Regions from separate parts of the Homo sapiens genome. Here region 2 is linked to region 1. Evidence: promoter capture Hi-C in 16 types of primary human blood cells and fetal thymus (Javierre and others, 2016). All regions are on one chromosome and are shown on one strand. The core of a region is centred on a gene start or on the middle of the fragment in contact, and the rest is flanking DNA. Distances in the headings are between cores, read along the strand shown. Region 1 holds the start of BIRC6 (baculoviral IAP repeat containing 6). Region 2 has its middle 10 kb from the start of RASGRP3-AS1.

Evidence for each region. Contacts are between HindIII fragments. The CHiCAGO score rates a contact against its expected background, and 5 or more counts as called.
Region 2: a contact is called between a fragment that was not itself captured here and the fragment with the promoter of BIRC6 in region 1, in 1 of 17 cell types (total B cells). The highest score is 5.1, in total B cells.

Annotation. Positions count from the first base shown.
Region 1 is chr2:32,355,051-32,360,270 of GRCh38, reverse strand. It overlaps BIRC6 (baculoviral IAP repeat containing 6), which reads right to left and starts at 3,248. Exons shown (of 74, transcript NM_016252.4): 1 at 2,785-3,248. The coding sequence starts at 3,109. RefSeq lists enhancers at 2,038-2,550, 3,065-3,577 and silencers at 2,802-3,031, 3,192-3,561. The HindIII fragment of the contact is 6,861 bases long and covers 1-3,757 here.
Region 2 is chr2:33,576,837-33,582,056 of GRCh38, reverse strand. No RefSeq gene overlaps it. Among named protein-coding and RNA genes, the nearest start is that of RASGRP3-AS1, 10 kb to the right of the region's middle. The HindIII fragment of the contact is 627 bases long and covers 2,441-3,067 here.

The sequences.
Region 1 (5,220 bases), core at 1,999-4,498:
ATACATATACATACAAGTCCTGTTCCCATCCTTCAACTGCAAATCTACAGGCAACCCATAACCCTATAAACTGAACCCCAGGCGTCCATAAGACCTATTACTGTATCACCTAGTCTTTATCCCCTCAGACACAGATGTCTTTCCTCTGTGGTAGAAAAGAAAGTGGCCCATTGCCCATAAACGGGAAAGAGGGATTATGTTAGGACCATGATCGCTACTGGCATCTTCTCTCTACTCTATTTATAGGGCTGTCACCCTCTATTAATCATTAAAAGCAAACTTACTAAATACCTGCAGATTCTAAGTAAAACATAAAATGCAGCATTCCCTCCTCAATCATCTGAACTGGGGCAAATAGGACCCTATACAACCTCTGATAATTATTATTAATAACAAACTTCTGGCCAGGTGGGACAGCTCATGCCTGTAATACCAGCACTTTGGGAGGCTGAGGTGGGAGGATCATTTGAGGCCGGAAGTTCAAGACCAGCCTGGGCAACACAGCAAAACCCCATCTCTACAAATACGAATAAATTTTACAAATAATAATAAATTTCACTTCTCATATATGAAAATGTTTCAGAATGCATCCATTGTTAACTTCCAAATTTTTTCTGTAATCCTTCATTCCGTTCACTATAAACCCTTCTACATATTTTAATTCACATACTCAATCTTCATGCATGGGGACCTGCAATTGTATCCAATCCCGAACTCTTCTAATCAACAGATGCCCCAACAAAACCTGTTATCCCAAATCAATGCTACATTTTACTTATCTACCTACACCTTCATGTTATACATCTAAAACCCTCCTCTTTAGTAATCTACCACTAAAGTGAATATTGTCTTTCCTTCCATGTACAGGCACATAAATATATGTCCAATTTCCCCAACCAACAAATCCTGACACACATTATTATTCTCAAACATGGCCTCCAGACATAAAAAGCACACCATAAAATTCCTCTTTCTATCCAAAACACTTGAATACTTTTGTTAATGACTTTCTTTAGAAATCCTAGTACATATACCACTTATTCCAAGTTAAAAATCACAAAAATACTACATCCTCAAGATAGAAACATATACTAGAAAGTGTAGACATATATGAAAAGGATAAAATCAAATTAAAGATAACGTTTATGAAGAGGGAGGATTGGAGAAATGCAGTCCAGGAGAGATTCAGCTGAGATTTTAATCCTATTTGTAAAGTTTTATTTCTTAACCTGAGTTGGGGATGCATGGTGTTCACTGTAATTACTCTTCATACCTTTTCATACTTGAAATACTTTTAAATGACTTTTAAAAAGAAAGACATCCAATTACCAATGAGCATCTCCCTCTTACACACAGTGAGAAGCCATTATGTCCAAGTTGCAGTAACTGTTCACTGCTACATCTGGGCCACCCCATCATTTACCTAAGCCAAGAAAAGAAAAAATTACAAACCTACCTCCCAAAACTTTCTCTTAGATATGTTCCAAGTTTATATCCTGAAACTATACATAATCCAATTCTTTCACAACTCTCACATCAACAATAATTAACATGTCTAATTTCACGTTTGCATCCCTAAATTGCCATTTACTCTTACAAATGCCTTATTACTCACATAGTAAACTTTTCCTTGTTCGTCTACGTTAAAATACAAGTGAATTGGTTGACCACATAACTACTTCCACTTGGCTAAACGCAGACAGTTGTATACATTACATCTCTATGCAGGAGTCCGATTCACTCATACACTAACTTTTCAATCTAAACCTACAACATCCAAATTAAGCCACCCATCATTTAACCACAAATGAAATGTCATCTCCGCCAAATCTAACTCAGCCAGGGCCATTCCAAAACCACTCCAGTCCGTCCACTGAGCATACACCTCACGCATCTGAAAGTCCCGTCCCTGGACCAAGGTTTACGCCACCCAGAAGTGCTCTCCTCCAATGGTGAGACTCAGACACACCTTCAAATCCTAATTTTCGGCTCGCTGTGGGAAAACAAGTAGAGACAGCCTGAAGTTACAAACCCAAAGGAATCTATTTCATACACCACAGGTCCTGACTTTCTCGTCACTGGGGCGTAGAAGTTGGAAGCCCCGAGCAAGGGGACCAGGTCTAGTCGTCTTCGGCGTCCGCAGAGTCCTACAGTCGTCGACCAAGCAGTTCAGGCAGCTGGCCCGCCTACTTCCCTCCCCACCCCCACCACGACCCACCCCACCCCCACCCCACCCCCACCCCCACGCTGGGCGCACAGCCCGCGGTCTGTCCCCCGCACTGCGGGACCTGAGAACAGCAGACTGCCGGCTCCTCTCCCACAAGGGAGGGCTTGGTTGCCGGCTCAGACGCTCCCCGCCCCTCGCCTCCGGCCACCAGCCTCTCCGCCCGGGGTCAACCCTTCCAGCCTTTCGCTCTCATCTAACCGGACGCAGGACCGACAGCCTCTCCAGGGCCTACCCGGGCCTCGCTTCCTCCGGTGCCAAGCTCCAAGGTCTCCTCACCTCTCGCGGAGGACCAAGCCAGACCGGACGCTCCAGGCCCGAAAGGCAACTCCCCTCCCACCACTCCCTGACTCGCCGGTCTTTCCTCCCAACTGCAGCCGCTGAAAAAGCCAAGTCCTAAGGTCCCCCTCCATCAGCTTCCGGGCCTCCCTTCACGGCTGGGCCCGAACCCCCAGCCCTGCCCTCTCGCCATCTCGCTTCCCCGAGTCGCGAGGCCGAGCCCCGGGGCTGGACGGCTTCTTTCCCCGGCTTCGCGCCCGCCCGGCGTGCGGAAGACTCACCACTGAGCGCGGAGGCCTGCAGTGTGGCCCCCGAGGTGCCGTCGATGACTTTGATGGTCCCGCGGCTAGTGACGGCCAGGATGGCGTTGAGCGCAGGGTGGTAGGACAGGCTGTGCAGCCCGTCGGCGTCGCAGTGCATGCAGCCGTCCCGCAGCACCAGCCACTCTGAGACCCCGGCCGCCCCCGCCCCCGCCGCCGAGGAGCAGCCGGGGCCCGAGGCCGCCGCAGCCGCAGCCGCCATCTTCCGGCCTGCGCTCAGCACAATCACACTGGGAAGCGGCTCAGTGACAGTCCCGGGAGGTGCAGCACCACCACCAGTCACCATCCGGGGCCAGGGGGCAAGCCGAGCGCGTTAGCCGGAAGTGAAGTCAGGCGCCCGCACGCACGCGGAACGTCGATCGCCCGGCCGGAGGGGCCAAACTCGGAGGGAGGCTGACGGGAGAGGGGGAGAAGCAGGGAGGGAGGCGGGGCCCGGGGCGCGGGCTGGAGGCCGGCGGGTGGAGCATGCGCGGGAGGGCTCGCGCGTGCCACGCGCCGCGGGTCTGGCCAGTTCCGCGTCCGCAGCGTCCCAGTTTCTTCCTGTGAGCCTGGGGAGTGGCGGCTGCCGAGTCCGCCCCGCTCCTCGCGGGGGCAGGGGGAGGGGTTGGCCTCCGTGCATTTCCGCTAGGTGGGGACCCCCGCCCTTGCGACCTGTCCGGTACGCCCGGAGGCCTTTTGCAGCGGTTCCAGCTGCGCCTTGACCGTTCCCGGTACGCACGGTGCAGCTGTTCGGCCGTGGCCGGAAGCGGACCTCTGGGTCTCGGTCACGGCTCTGGTGTGAGAATAAACAATCAGAAGCCTCTCGTTTGGATTGGAAGGAACCGAGCGACCTTCCCAAACCTGTACCTTTTACCACGCCTGCCCTCCCCATTCCCAAGGCTTTCTGTTGAACAGAAGTACCAGATACGAGGTGCTGGAAGCGCATAGTTAAGCTTAGTTTCTCTATCCACATTCCAAACAACCCGAGTTACCGGAATTAATAGGAGTGTGGGTCTGTGTGAGTGTGTGGTGGGGTGTGTTGGAGGTCTAGAAAGGACTAATCAATTTACTAATCATCCCCCCTTGGAGAATTTTTTTAAAACTTTTTATTTTGAAATAGATTACAGTTGAAAATATACTACAGACCTCTGTGGTCTTTCTCTCCAAAAGCCATAACCCCTATCTAACTATGAGAAAACCATTTGACAAACCCAAACTGTAGGACATTATTTTTATAAAATACCTAAACACTACTCAAAGATAGTACAGAGAGATCCAATTTACTCTTTACCCAGTTTCCCCCAATGGTTGCATATTACATAATTCTAGTACAATCTCAAAAGGAGGGATTTGATAGTTGTATGATGTGTGTATAGTTCAATGTCATTTTATCACATGTAGACCTACGCACCATAGTCAAGATGCAGAGTTGTATGTTCTATATGTTTTGTGATCATTAGGTTATTTTGGAAAGAACTAGTTTTCCTTAAAAACCTAATCAAAGATCTGTTGTGAGGATTAAGAATCATTTGTAAAATGTGTAGAAGAGCATCTGACAAGTATATACTACGTGCTCAATAAAAATTATAAAAGTTAATTGCCCTCTCACATTCATGCGAACTTCCTTCAGGAAATCTTCATGGATTACCTGAACTACATCTTAAACTATTAGCCATCAGGCTACATCTGAAACACTTAGAGATTTGACTGTATTCCTCTCTTCTTGGGGGTCCCTAAAATACACTGAAGTTCCTGGGCCTGCCAGAGAGTGACATTCCTTACTCATCTGTGGTTCTTTTTTTTTTTTTTTTTTGGCTTTTTTGTTTGTTTTTGTTTGTTTATTGAGACGGAGTCTCACTCCGTCGCCCAGGCTGGAGTGCAGTGGCGTGATCTCAGCTCACTACAACTTCTGCCTCTTGGATTCAAGCAATTCTCGGCCTCAGCCTCCTGAATAGCTGGGATTACAGGCACCTGCCACCACGCCTGGCTAATTTTTTTTTTTTTTTTTTTTTGTATTTTTAGTAGAGATGGGGTTTCACCATCTTGGCCAGGTTGGTATTGAACTCCTGATCTCGTGATCCACCTGCCTCGGCCTCCCAAAGTGCTGGGATTACAGGTGTGAGCCCCCGCGCCCGGCCACTCAGGCCACTCACCTGTAAGTCTGGGAACAATCAGGCCAGTTTTTCAAACGAAGACTTTATTGGCTCCATAAAGTCAACCATAGCTCCTTAATGCCATCTGGTCATGTTTGAAAATATGACATTCCAGTCAAAACCTGGTTAATACAACCAGTGCCTCCAATTATGTCTTGTTACAGGAGAACACATTTTTATAGAAATTATGCAAATAACTATATTGCCATAAAAATAGGAATACTTGGCCGGGTGCGGTGACTCATACCTGTAATCCTAGCACTTT
Region 2 (5,220 bases), core at 1,505-4,004, 1.2 Mb before region 1:
GAACCTTACCAGCGTTTGCTGTTCCTCCCCCGCCTCTCCCCATTCTGAAACCATAAAAGAATTGAGTTTTTTCTCTTGAACATAGATCAAGTTCTCTAGAAACAGGATATTTCAAACCACCAGTTAGTTTTATTGTTATATTAAAGTTCTTAGGTTTTGTATAGAGAGTATCTTTTGATCTTATATGCATTCTTAACCTTAACTTGTAAATAATGATTTACTGGAATATAGGGCATATGAGAATTTCTTGGAGAAACAAGCGAAAAATATTAGGAGAGAATTTTTAACATGATATCTTAAACTGTTATCTCTTAAAACGGATACAGTGAGACAGACAGTACCTTTAGTTAATGTTCTGTTTCCTCCTACTACTAGGAACTAGAATAGGATGTCAGTATTCTCTATGAAAACTATTAAAGATATACCACTATCATTTTTATTTCTTGCTGTAGATCCAAACTAATCTAGTGTCCAACTGTGGTAGACATAGAATAGGCAAATTCTTGCTGAGGGAAGGCATTTGAATCATTTCTATATATACTTAATTGATTTCCCAGTGCCCAGATTACCTCCATCCTTAGACTTAAATATTTTTAGGTTGTGCCCATTGTATCTTTCTGGATACTTTGTCTACCTATATTACATCCTTTTGAAAATAGTTTTTAAATATGTTTATATTATTTAATCATACCCCCGCCTCCCACTTTAGGTAATTTGGATAGCATTTGATCCATTTGTTTTTTAACAGAGAGGGTTACCTAAATAAAATTTAGGTATTTATTTGTATTTTACCTAAATAAAAAAATGAGTTTACCTGAATGAAAAAGTACATTCATCACAGAATACTTAGCATTTTATGACTTCTTATTTTCCTGTTTTTCTTGTTTTTCTCATTCTTCATTATCATAGTAATAACTAGAAATGCTTTTTTTTTCCCTGTGGTTTCCATATTTGTATACACTAATGTATTCCTAGGGTTCAAATCACTGATTCAAACAGGTATGCATGTCAGTGTTTGAACTCACTTTCCGCTTGCACAATTTTAGTCACCTGCAGATGTGCGGTTATAAGTTGGAGTAAACATAACTGTTGGTATGAGAACTTCCACAGTAAATCATTCCCTGCCCACTAAATGTAATAAAGAGGCCGGGGGCAGAAATAGATAGGGAAGAAAAAAAAAATGTTTCCTAGGAATTTGGGTCGGGGAGAAAAAAACCTCTTAAAATGATTGGTATTTGTTAAATTGAGTTATAATTTTTTCAAGAAGAAAAAAGGCCTGGCCAGGCACGGTGACTCAGCCTGTAGTCCCAGCACTTTGGGAGGCCAAGGTGGGCGGATCATCTGAGGTCGGGAGTTCAAGACCAGCCTGGCCAACATGGTGAAACCCCGTCTCTACTAAAAATGCAAAACTTAGCTGTGTTTGGTGGCGGACGCCTGTAATCCCAGCTACTTGGGAGGCTGGGGCAGGAGAATGGCTTGAACCCGGGAGGCAGAGGTTGCAGTGAGCCGAGATTGCACCTCTGCTCTCCAGCCTGGGCAACAGAGGGAAACTCCATCTCAGGGAAAAAAAAAAAAAAAGAAGAAGAAAGGCCTGTAGTTCAGTTCAGTAAAAATGAGTGTCTGCTATATTCTAGCACTGTGCTGGGCTGAGGTAGAAAGTCCATGGCTTGAGAAATGTCTCAGCATGGACTGAGTGACAGAGCCAGAAACATAGGTAATTGTAGCATAAATAATAATGAAAATTATGTGTGGGTACTAGGAGAGCATGGTGTTTCTGTATTGCTTATATGGGGTGGAAATTGGCAGAAATTGGAAAGATTGCAGGGGTCAGGTAATAGAGGGCTCTCCATGCCGTCCTGAGTAACTTGGAGCTACTTTGTGTACGGTAGTATACCAATAACACGGCATATTCAAGTTTGGCTCTGTGTAAATTATTGGCTCAAGAGTAGGGGATAGACTCAAGGAGGAGGGCAAAGGTTGGAATCAGAAGCGTAGAGCTTAAATTAATGTGGTAGACATAGTAAGGGTATAGAAGGGGCAGATTTGAGAATTATGTCGGAGGCAAATATTATAGGAGTATATTAGAACAAGAAATGTAGTATGAACCTTGGTTTTTGGTTTTTTTGGTTTGTGATTGAGTAGATGATGAACTACCAATTGAAATCGAAATTAGAAGAAGGGGGAAAGGTGGGCTGGGGGAAATGATTTCAGTCTGAAACTCCAGAAAATGCCTGGAGATAGAAGTCTGGGAATGATCAACATCCACTGATTTTTGCATTGAAACATTTCATCAGAAAAATGATTCCAAATTAAACCATCCAAAAAGGGAGGAAAGGGGCAGTGGACCAAGGATGGAATCTTAAGGATTAATCAGTTAAGGGATAGATGGAGCAGGGTCACAGAGTAAGAGGGACACCTAGAGAACAGTGTTGTGGAAGCTTAGGGTTGGTAGTAAGAATGGTAATTTATTACTGTTATTACTGTTTATTGAGAGCAACATGAGTACTACTATTAACCCTCTTTTCACATGTAAAGAGTATGAAGCCAGGATAGTTGAGAAGACTTGCCCATATCCATATAGTTAGTAAGCGGGGGAGCTGGAATAAACCTAGGGCCATCTGGCTCCAGAGCTCAGTAATGCACAATTCCAGATGCTACAGAGAAATTCAACGAACTAGAGTTGAAAAATAGCCGTATGTCTTGCGGCGTTTTTGTGTTGGTGTTGTTTTCTTGTGGCATTTTCAAGAGCAGTTTCAGAATAAAAATGAGACCAGTTTTCTGGAGTTTAAGGAAAGAATGAGAAAATAAACCATAAATTTAGATTATAGTTGACCCTGAACAACAGATCCATTTATATGAGAAAGTTTTTCAACCAAATGCCGCTGGAAAATACAGTATTCACAGGATGTAAAGACCTCCGTATAGGGAGGGGCTGATTTTTCATATATGTGGGTTCCACAGGGCTGACTGTGGACTTGACTATGTGTGCATATTGGTATGTGCATTAGTTCAGGGGTCCTGGAACTAATCTCCTGTATACCAAGGGACCACTGTAGTTCTAGAAGCTTCACTGAGAAAGGACTGAGTAAAATAACAGTGTAACATTTAGTGGAATGAAGTGATGTACTCTGAAAGGTTACAAAAAGCCAGGGAAGTCTTAAAGAAAATATAATTGAAAGTCTTTAAGAACCCAAAAGTATCAATAATAGAATTATTTAGGGGTTCAAATATCTAGTACTCTCTCTTTATTTATTGGTTTATAAATGAATAAATGCATGAACGACAGGCCTAGACTAGAGTGATCATAGCTCACTGCAGCCTCGACCTCCCAAGCTCAAGTGATCCTCCCACCTCAGCCTTCCGAGTAGCTGGGTCTGCAGGTGGGCACCACCACACCCAGCTAAGTTTTTTCATTTTTCATAAAGCCAGGGCCTCGCCATGTTGCCCAGGCTGGTCTCAAACTCCTGGGCTGTTGCGATCCTCCCACCTTGGCCTCCCGAAGTGCTGGAATTACAGGTGTGAGCCACAGCGCCTGGCTTCTTATGAGGCATTTACAAAATGGTCGAGATAACAGGCTTATTTTGCAAAATGTATGAAAAGTACTATCAAGTCCTCAGAACAGGTAAGTTTATTCCGAGTTATGCAAAATTTCCAGCACTTATCAAGGCCTTAGTCAACACCAGCTGTATTATCTCTCAAGGTTTAACTGCTTCAGAATTGTTTCTTTTCCAATAGAAACCAATTTATGTGATATGGTGTGGAAGATGATCAATCACAAGTTAACTACACGAATGTCTAACTACAGAGAAATTTGCTTCATTCTAACCCTCAAATAGTAGAAATTAGTGAAAAATTTTGTAATGAAACAAAAAGTAAATTACAACCTAAAAGGATGAGCCAGGGCTTTTTAAAAAATCTCATTTGTAATGATAATGAAATGTAATAAATTTAAATTTTGTGGTGCCACTCTTTTAAGGTTAACACCTTATCAAGTTATTTAAGTGCTTACTCTGGAAAAAATACAAGTAATGGAAAGCATTTTTCCCCTAGATACCTACTGTATAACAAACTAGGGCAATGAAATTTGTACCTATGTTAAAATTTGAGAGCAATGGGTGGATGCAACAAATACTTGACTAACAATTCATGTAAATTACCAGGAAGCAGCCTGGTACACTAGCCACGTAATGTTGAGCAAGTTATTTAACCCATGATATTCCAATCTCTAAAGTGAAAGTATCCCACCTTCTTAGAAGAGCTGGGAGGATTAAATGTGATGATCCGTATAAAATACCACAATGTATAGCACATAATATACACTCAGTGTTTACTATCAATACAGAGGTAACTAATATTCAGGAACTTCCTAAGCACAATCTTAGGGAGAAATCTCTTTACTCCTCCTGTTTCAGATTTGGAACAAATGTTGCAGAGAAGGGCATAGCACTCAATTATTTCCCCTTCCTACAACTTGAAAACAGCCTAAGATATCCTGAGTACCCAGACATAAAGAATCTATGATGGGCAATCGGCTATGCATCTTTTTGCTTTTTTTTTTTTTAAACTGTACAACATGATGTTCAAATTTGCTTTTGTATTCTAGCTTTTTTTCTAATAAATGGTTTTCCATAGTATTCAGTGTGTGACTGTGTAGAATAGAGCTGCTCTGTAAGAGCATTGTTAAGGACAACAAAGGGAGTGAGCTGAAGATTGGGCGACTTCGCTCATTGGCTCATGTTACAGATTTTTTCTTTCTTTTTTTGAGACAGAGTCTCGCTCTGTCACCCAGGCCGGAGTGCAGTGGTGCTATCTTGTCTCACTGCAACCTCTGCCTCCCGGGTTCAAGAGATTCTCCTGCCTCAGCCTCCTGAGGAGCTGGCACTACAGGCACGTGCCACCACGCTGGCTAACTTTTTGTGTTTTAGTAGGGACAGTTTTTCACTGTATTGCTAGGATGATCTCGATCTCCTGGTGTCGTGATCCACCCGTGTCGGCCTCCCAAAGCGCTGTGATTATAGGTGTGAGCCACCATGCCCAGCCACAATTCTTTTTATGTCCCTTTAGAACATTACCTCTCATTGGTCACACTTTTATTTTCCCATCAAAAACAAAATAGGCTGGGTGCAGTGAGTCATACTTGTAATCCCCGCACTTTGAGAGGCCAAGGTTGGAGGATCACTTGAGGGCAGGAGTTCAAGACCAGCCCAGCCAACATAGCAA